Regions from separate parts of the Homo sapiens genome. Here all the other regions are linked to region 1. The links are contacts of gene promoters, found by promoter capture Hi-C in human tissues and cell types (Jung and others, 2019). All regions are on one chromosome and are shown on one strand. The core of a region is centred on a gene start or on the middle of the fragment in contact, and the rest is flanking DNA. Distances in the headings are between cores, read along the strand shown. Region 1 holds the start of HECW1 (HECT, C2 and WW domain containing E3 ubiquitin protein ligase 1). Region 2 has its middle 69 kb from the start of MRPL32. Region 3 overlaps HECW1 (HECT, C2 and WW domain containing E3 ubiquitin protein ligase 1).

Evidence for each region. Contacts are between HindIII fragments. The study calls those that stand out against the background at their distance.
Region 2: a contact is called between a fragment that was not itself captured here and the fragment with the promoter of HECW1 in region 1, in 2 of the 25 tissues and cell types used here (IMR-90 fibroblasts and small bowel).
Region 3: a contact is called between a fragment that was not itself captured here and the fragment with the promoter of HECW1 in region 1, in 3 of the 25 tissues and cell types used here (dorsolateral prefrontal cortex, mesendoderm cells and thymus).

Annotation. Positions count from the first base shown.
Region 1 is chr7:43,111,253-43,114,010 of GRCh38, reverse strand. It overlaps HECW1 (HECT, C2 and WW domain containing E3 ubiquitin protein ligase 1), which reads right to left and starts at 1,364. Exons shown (of 30, transcript NM_015052.5): 1 at 1,074-1,364. The HindIII fragment of the contact is 15,211 bases long and covers 1-2,758 here.
Region 2 is chr7:43,000,039-43,002,796 of GRCh38, reverse strand. No RefSeq gene overlaps it. Among named protein-coding and RNA genes, the nearest start is that of MRPL32, 69 kb to the right of the region's middle. The HindIII fragment of the contact is 4,487 bases long and covers 1-2,758 here.
Region 3 is chr7:43,178,854-43,181,611 of GRCh38, reverse strand. The region is part of intron 2 of HECW1 (HECT, C2 and WW domain containing E3 ubiquitin protein ligase 1); the gene reads right to left. Among named protein-coding and RNA genes, the nearest start is that of MIR3943, 29 kb to the right of the region's middle. The HindIII fragment of the contact is 5,574 bases long and covers 1-2,758 here.

The sequences.
Region 1 (2,758 bases), core at 115-2,614:
GCAGACTGAGGCGCGCTGTGCCCGGAACCACAGGAAGCCGGGCATCTCTGCAGCCTGTGTCCCTGCCAGCTCCCCCTACGCGCTGAAATTCGGCAGGGAAGAAGTTATGGTGCCCAGCCTCTGTGTGCAAGACAGAGACACCGCGCATCATGGCTCTGAAAATCAGCCAAGTGGCCGGGACGTCAAAGCGGCAGAGCAATCAGAATGCCCTGGAGCCGGGGATGGAGGGGCCACATTGTTTGAGCCCTCGGATTTTGCTGCATTGTCACCGCCCGGGAACGTGGGGGTAGCAGGAAGCGCACCTCCAGCCAAAAATGGACCGGACGCATTCCCCCCCCCTCCCCGCCCCGGCAGCTCCCTCCCTGCCTGTCTGCAAGTCGCAATACGGTAGGCGACATGACTGCTCCCGCTAAAACTCAGGTGGCAGGCCCGGCTGAGCGGCGCAGCCGGCCGGTAACAGGGAGGCGCTGGGGGAGCACCCACACAGCGCCTCCTCCCCTCCTGCACCCGTCCATGGGAGCAAGGGCCGGACCTGGCCACGCGCCCCTCGAGCGAGCACCGGCGAGCCCGTGCGGAGGCTCTGGGCGCTCTCTGGGCTAACCACGGGCATTGCATGGGACACAATTGTTCAAAAGCGAGCCCAAGGCGAAGCGCAAATCCAGAGCTTTGGTTCACAAGGGGTGGGTGTGGGCTGGGAAGGGGGATTACGTAGGTCTCTCCGCCCCCTCCCCTGACACCTCCTCGCCACTGGGAGGGCGCTGAGGGGCGGGGGAGGCGCTGCGAACCCGCTTGGGGGCTTCTTTGTTTCTCTCCGTACCCCGCAGGAGGGCCGGGTGCGCCTGCAGTACCCAAGCCGGGGTCGCCACCCGGGGATGCCGGCCCGGACCGGGCGGCGGCGCGACCCAGGCTGACAATTGAACCTCGCGGGAGAAGCGAGAGGGTGGGGAGGAGGGTGGATCTCGGCCCCGAGAAGGGAGGGCGCTGCCGGGGCCTCGCGTGCGGCGGGGAAGCCGCCCAGAGAAGGGCGGGGGGGAAGGGGCGGCAGACAGTGTCCCCGCGCTACGCCCGCTTACCTTGGCAGCCCTGGCCTGGGCACAGATCATGCTCCTGTCAGCGCGCAGATTAGAGCTGGGGGGCGCACGTGCCCCGCATAGTGCACCGGGCGCCTGGGACTGGCTGGGGAGGGGACCCTGGCGACCGCCCGCTCTCGCTGCGCTCTGGCTGCCGGGTGCCCCGAGAGAGCGGAGGCCACGGCCACTGTCACGGCGGAGGGGCGCGCGCGGCTCGGCGAGTGTGTGCGCGAGGAGGGGGCCGGTTCGGTCAGAGTCGCACGGTGTTCCGGCTCCAACAACAGCGCCTGATGCGCGGTAACGCAGCACACTTCATCGCTTTATCCTCCCGCTTGCATCCCCTCCCTCCCTGCCTGCTCCTCTGTGGGTACCAGACTCCAGAACCAACCACAAGCCGGGCTTGCTCTCATTAGCGCTGCCCCGCCCTGCAGCCTCCGCGCACCCCCACCCCCGCCCCCGCGGTAAATATATATCGATTCTTGTTACCGCCGGCCCCATCCTTCCAACACCCAGCACGCGTACTGGGCATATCCAACACCAACCCTGGCTCCTCGGCCCTTTTGTGTGTGTGCAAACAGTGTAGCAGAAAGGATGCGGTACAGACACTCTAGGCGGGTACCCTGTGACAGGTGTTCTTGGCCTCTGTCTTAGACACTTTCCTCGCTTACCTTACACACAGTTAAGAACGCTCAGAGACACATTTCAGGAACCGTCCTGTATTTGCACAAGCACACAAAACATCGTAATGACAAATGCAAAGGATGAAAATCACCCCAGAATATCTATTGTTGGGCAAACCTAGCTCCCAAACCGCGTTTTCTATTACACTGCACACAGTGTCAGAATGCTAGAACGAGAAGGAGGCAAAGTCTAGACCCTTCCAGGTACAGCCAACTGAGATGCAAAGAGAAGTGAAATGCTGGTTACTATTGGTGGTTGGCTGCTCCATGTATGCACATTTTTGTGCATCTGGTCGACATTTGGTTTGTGTGTGTTCACATAAAATGCAGAGGCTTTGAGCACATAATCTCTATAGCCTGGGATTTTATGATCCAACCACATTCTCTACAATGCTGATTTATTCCTTCCCATTATTTTGCCCAGCATCCTCTACATGAGCTTTTTTTCACTTTCTGAGAAGTTATCTTCTTTCCCAGACCCCAAACTCCGCCTCCTCTAGAATAAACAAAGGCTTCACCCTGACTTCAGAACTCCTTACTGAAGACCTGAGTACGGACTTGTCAAAACCAAATCTCCTTCCCCTTCCACCCACAGTGGCTAGTTTCTCAGTGCCTCTCATTCCACTGACCTGCCTCTTGGCATTGATTTCACTCTTACAACTGGAACTTTCCAGAACTGGAAACTTTGGACGATGTGAAGGCAGCTTCACCAGCTGTGCTCTTTTCTGCAAGGAGGCACAGCCCTTCTCTTTCCGTATTCCACTTGGGGTGCCCAGTCCTTTCCTGACAGACCCTTTTCTTTGCCTGACAGCAGTCAGATCTTCTGGTCAGATGAGCTCAAAGCAGACCATTTTCAAACCTTAGCTAAGAATCCACACAGAAAGCTGTGCACACATTTCTCCGGATTTTACACTTGGATTAGTACCAACTCCTATATGAAGAAAACTCTCCGAGAATAGACTTGAACAGGCTGTGGCAGTAAACAGCAACAGCAACCAACCATGTGAT
Region 2 (2,758 bases), core at 168-2,667, 110 kb after region 1:
AGACTTTATCTCTACAAAAAATGAAAAATAATTAGTTGTGCATGGTGGTGTGTGCCTGTAGTCCCAGGTACCAGGGAGGCTGAGGCAGGAGGATTGCTTGAGCTCAGGAAGTTGATGCTGCAGTGAGCTGTGATTGCACCACTGCATTCCAGCCGGGCAATAGAGTGACATTGTCTCAAAAAAAAAAAAGCCAAAAATCAATGGCATAATATCTTCAGTGTTCTGACTTCTAGTTCCCAGCAAATATATTCTAGAAAAAAATGGTGAATTAAATATATTTTCCAGCAAACAAAACCTGAAGTAATTCACTAGCAGACCTGATCGTCAAGGAAAACTATAGGATATATTTCAAGCAGAAGAGACCTTATCCCAGATAAAAAGTTTGATAAACAGGAAAGAATAAAAATGAAATATAGATTAATCAAAATGAATATTGACTGTATATTATTTTTATAAGGTTTATGTTGTTGTTAGAACTAAAATTATATAACAGGAAGTGATTAAACTTAATTAAAATGTTCCAATATCCTTGCATTGCCCAGGAAGAAAGTAGAAGTGCAAAGTAACGTCAAACTCTGGTGAGTCAGATGCATGCTGTGATCTCAGGAATAAACTGCTGAAAAATATTAAAGAGTACATATCTTCTAAACTGCCAAAAAAAGAATAATTTTTTTAATTCAAAAAAGTTAAGAAAAGAGAGTATAGAATAAAAAATTAGAAATTATGTAGTAAAATTATAACTTCATATTAAAATATACACATATAGTATTCAATAGAATTACAAAACAGAAGAATTATAACTCAAAATAAAAAACTTATAAGACTGATAAAAACCTATATGCAATTTAAGAAAGACTTATCTTAAACAAAGATACAGAAAGATTGAAAACAAAAGGATTGACACTTTGGGAAGCCAAGGCAGGAGGATTGCTTGAGTGAAGGAGTTCAAGACCAACCTGGGCAAGATTGGGAGAAAAAAATTAAAAATTAGCTGGGCATGGTGGTGCATGCCTGTAGTCTCAGCCACTGGGAAGGCTGAGGAAGGAGGATCGCTTGAGCCTGAGAGATTGAGGCTGCAGTGAGCCTTGATTGTGCCACTGCACTCCAGCTTGGGCAACAGAGTGAGACCCTGTCTCAATTAATTAAATAATAGCGGAATTTAAAAAATGTATCATACAAACACCAAAAAAAAAAAAAAGTTGAAATAGCAATATTAATATTAAAGTGGATTTTAAGGCAACAAAAATTACTAAGTAAGGGAAGAGACACATCAAAATTGTAAAATATTTCATTACCACAGATGATACAATAATTCTAAATGTGTATACATTTAATAGCATAGTCTTACATACAATAAAAAATTTGACAAATATAAGGATAAATACACAATTAGTAGCAAATAATAAAACAAATAGGCAAAATATCAGTAAGGATTTAGGTTTCAGTAACATAATTACAAATTAGACCTAAAAGACATATACAGAATGCTGCATCCAACAGCTGCAGAATGAGCACTATTTTCAAAAGTAAATGGACCACTTATAAATATTGATCATATACTGAATCATTAAGCAAGTCTCTACCAATTACAAAAGATTAAAAGCATACAAGATCTTCTCTGACCACAATGCAATAAAGAGAGAAATATAGTTCATAAAACATCTTATGTTTTAAAGTTAAGAAAATGTTTATAAGTCATCTAAAGGTGAAAAGAAAAGCAGTAAGAAATTAAAGTTAAACCAAAATTAAAATTAAATTGAAATGAAAAAGAAAAATGGAAATTAGAAAATATTTCAAGCTAAATGATAATGAAATATTCCATATCAAAACTTGTGAGATATACCTAAAGCTGTGTATAAAAAGAAGTATTTTAGCTTTCAATGCTAAAAAGCATAAATATCCATCTCAATAAATCAGAAAAATAACAATAAAATACCAAAGTAGAAGAAAGTGAATAATAAAGACAAGAACAAAAATAAATGAAATAGAAAGGAAATATACAAATAGAATTGACAACCCAACAGTTGTCTTTCAAATTGATTTTTACTGAAGTGTATCATACGTACTAAAAAAGTCACACATCACTTAGCATATAGCTCAACAAATTTTCACAAAGTGAACATTTTTGTAAGCAACATCCAGATCAAGAAAAAGAGCACCCCAAGCATTCCTGGTGCCCCACCCTCATCCCTGCCTGATACTATGACTCTCACAATGAAACTACTAGCCTGACTTCTAATTCCATAGACTGATTTGTCTTATTTTTATTTTTATTAATGAACAAAAATTCATTTTTAAAAGATGAATGAAATTGATAAACTCCTGGTGGGAGTTTCTTATCAAATTGAAAAAGAGAGCAAGCACAGGCATGCTTCACTTTATTGCACTATGCAGATATTGCCTTTTTTTACCAAATGAAGGTTTGTGGCAACCCTGTGTTCAGCAAGTCTATTGGTGCCATTTTTCCAACAGTGTGAGCTCACTTTGTGTCTCTGTGTCACATTTTGGTAATGCTCAAAATATTCAAATTTTTCATTATTATTATATCTGTTATGATGATCTGTAGTCAGTGATCTTTGATGTTACTATGGTAATTGTTTTGGAATGGAATGCTATGAACCACACCCATATAAGATGAAAAACTTATTCAATAAATGTGTGTGTTTGACTCCTCCACAGGTTGGCAATTCCTCCATCTCTCTCCCTCTTCTTGGGCCTCCCTATTTCCTGAGACACAACAATATGGAAATCAGTCCTA
Region 3 (2,758 bases), core at 120-2,619, 68 kb before region 1:
TATGTAAAAAAATACTCAACATCACCAATCATCAGAGAAATGCAAATCAAAATGAGATACTGTCTCACTCCAGTTAGAATGGCTATTATCAAAAAGATAAAAGAAAACAAGTGCTGGTGGGGTGTGGAGAAAAAGAAACCCTTATGCAATGTTGGTGGAAGTGTAAATTTGTACAGCCATTATGGAAAACAGTGTTGAGGTTCCTCAAAAAATTTAAAATAGAACTACTATATGATCCAGCAATCCCACTGCTGAATATTTATCCAAAGGAAATGAAATCAATACGTCCAAGAGATCAGCACTCCCTTATTTATTGCAGCAGTATTCACAACAGCCAAGCCATGGAAACAACCTAAGTATCCATCAAGACATGAATGGATAAAGTATGGTATATATACACAATGAAATACTATTCAGCCATAAAAAAGAATGAAATGGTGTCATTTGCCACAACATGGATGAACCTGGAGGACATTATGTTAAGTGAAATAAGCCAGGCACAGAAAGACAAATACCACATGAACTCCCTCATATGTGGAATCTTAAAAAGTTGATCTCATAGAAGAAGAGAGTAGAATAGTGGTTATCACAGGCTGAGGAGGTTAGGGGAGAGAGAGGAATGAGGAGAGGTCGGCCAATGTGTTACAAAGTTACAGTTAGATAGGAGGAATAAGTTCAGCTATTCTATTGCACAGTAGGGTGACTATGGTTAGCAATAATGTATTGCATATTTCAAAATAGTTACAAGAGAGGATTCTAAATATTCTTGCTACAAAGAAATTATATATGTTTGAGGTGATGGATTTGCTAATTACCCTGATTTGTTCATTAAACAATGTGCACATGTACTGAGACATCACATTGTACTTCATAAACATGTATAATTATTATGTGTCGATTAAAAATAAAATAAAACTGGCCAGGCGCGGTGGCTCACGCCCGTAATCCCAGCACTTTGGGAGGCCAAGGCGGGTGGATCACGAGGTCAGGAGGTCGAGACCATCCTGGCTAACACGGTGAAACCCCGTCTCTACTAAAAATACAAAAAATTAGCCAGGCGTGGTGGCGGGCACCTGTAGTCCCAGCTACTCAGGAGGCTGAGGCAGGAGAATGGCGTGAACCCAGTGGGTGGAGCTTGCAGTGAGCCGAGATCGCACCACTGCACTCCAGCCTGGGCGACAGAGCAAGACTCCATCTCAAAAAAAATAAAAATACAAATAAAAAAATAAAATAATAAAATAAAACTTAGAAAGCAATAAAAATATAAGTCAATTTGATTACTCAAAATCCTGAAGTTTTTTGTGCACCCTCCAACCATTAAAAGGAGTGGGAGCTAGAGGACTCTACCTACACAGCTTGTCCCAGGAGCCACAGTGCAGTGAAAGTAATCCTGGGCAAACATTCATTACCAGCAGGCTCAAACAGTCACATAACCTCTGCTATAAGTTGGTGATGTCCCCATCTTTTGTTCTTTTAGGCTCTGCAAAGTGCATCTTGCATAAAAGGGAATGTTACCAACTCTGCTAAGGGCAGATAACGTAAACTGGCAAGTGCAGTTGTGAAACTCCTCTACTGATTTGGGGGCCACAGGATCAGGGTGTCAGATCTAAGGTTGCTGGAGATGTCTGATTATTTTACCCTCCACAGATAAAGCAAAGGTTCCTGTATAACATCCCTGGTCAAATTGAACCTTCATTCATTTTACCTATAAAAATTACTGCGCTAGTAAATGCACCTTTCAGGGTCGATTTACATGGTGATAAATAAATCTCAATCATGTTTTCAAAAATGAACTCTCCCTTAGGCTCTTTTATATAACACTGAGGTATGGGCTACTATTGGGAAAATTTGGATGTTATCTAACTTTCCATAGGTATAAATTAAGGCAGTCATATTCTATGCTGCAGTATTTAATACAGACAATAAGCAATACTAAATATATTTAAAACACTTCTTTGTAGTCATTTGTTCTTAAAACTAAAAAGTATAAACCTTGCATTTAGATGTATTTGCTGTCTCAGCAAAAACGACAACAACAACAACAACAACAACAACAAACTTAGCAAATATACAATTCTCCCAAATAACCAATGGTATTTCTTTTAATGGGTGAACATAGCCATGTTAAGACGTTCAGGTACCAGTAAAATATAAAGCCATTCAATTTTAGTACCACACCTAGCTCTTGAGCACAAAGAACTTCTACTGAAGCATGGCATAATTCAAGCAAAGGTTGCCATTTTTACCACACTTGGAACTCTCAGACTTGGGAGTAAGGGGCTTCTATTAATATTACAGTCTCCTTTGCTCTCAATGCTGTAGACTTCAGCTTCACCTTGATGCCGCACAAATAATACAGCTCGATTCAAGTTGGAGCCCTTGGGTGCTGCTGTCAGCCACTCTCTCCAGCATCTTGGTTTGGCTATTTTGCATTTATTATTTTCTGCGGAAAGCAAGAACCTGTGCCTTTTGAGTGTCAACAACTTTGATGTTTTCTCACTGCGGAGGAAAGGAGATGAATTATTCTGGAGAAAATGCTTTCTTTTTCCTCGGTGTTACTTGTGAAGGGCCTGGCACTTCTAAGAAAGTAGTTGATATTCTCCAAGGCTTTTTTCTCTAGACAATATTATTTTCAGTGCTTGGTGAATATGAATCAGGTATCATGCTCCATAAAAAAGATATTTTCAGGAAGTGTTCTGAAAAGGCTGCTTTTGCAATTGAGCTTTCCATTTTAACAAGCCATCCTTAATTTAAAGAA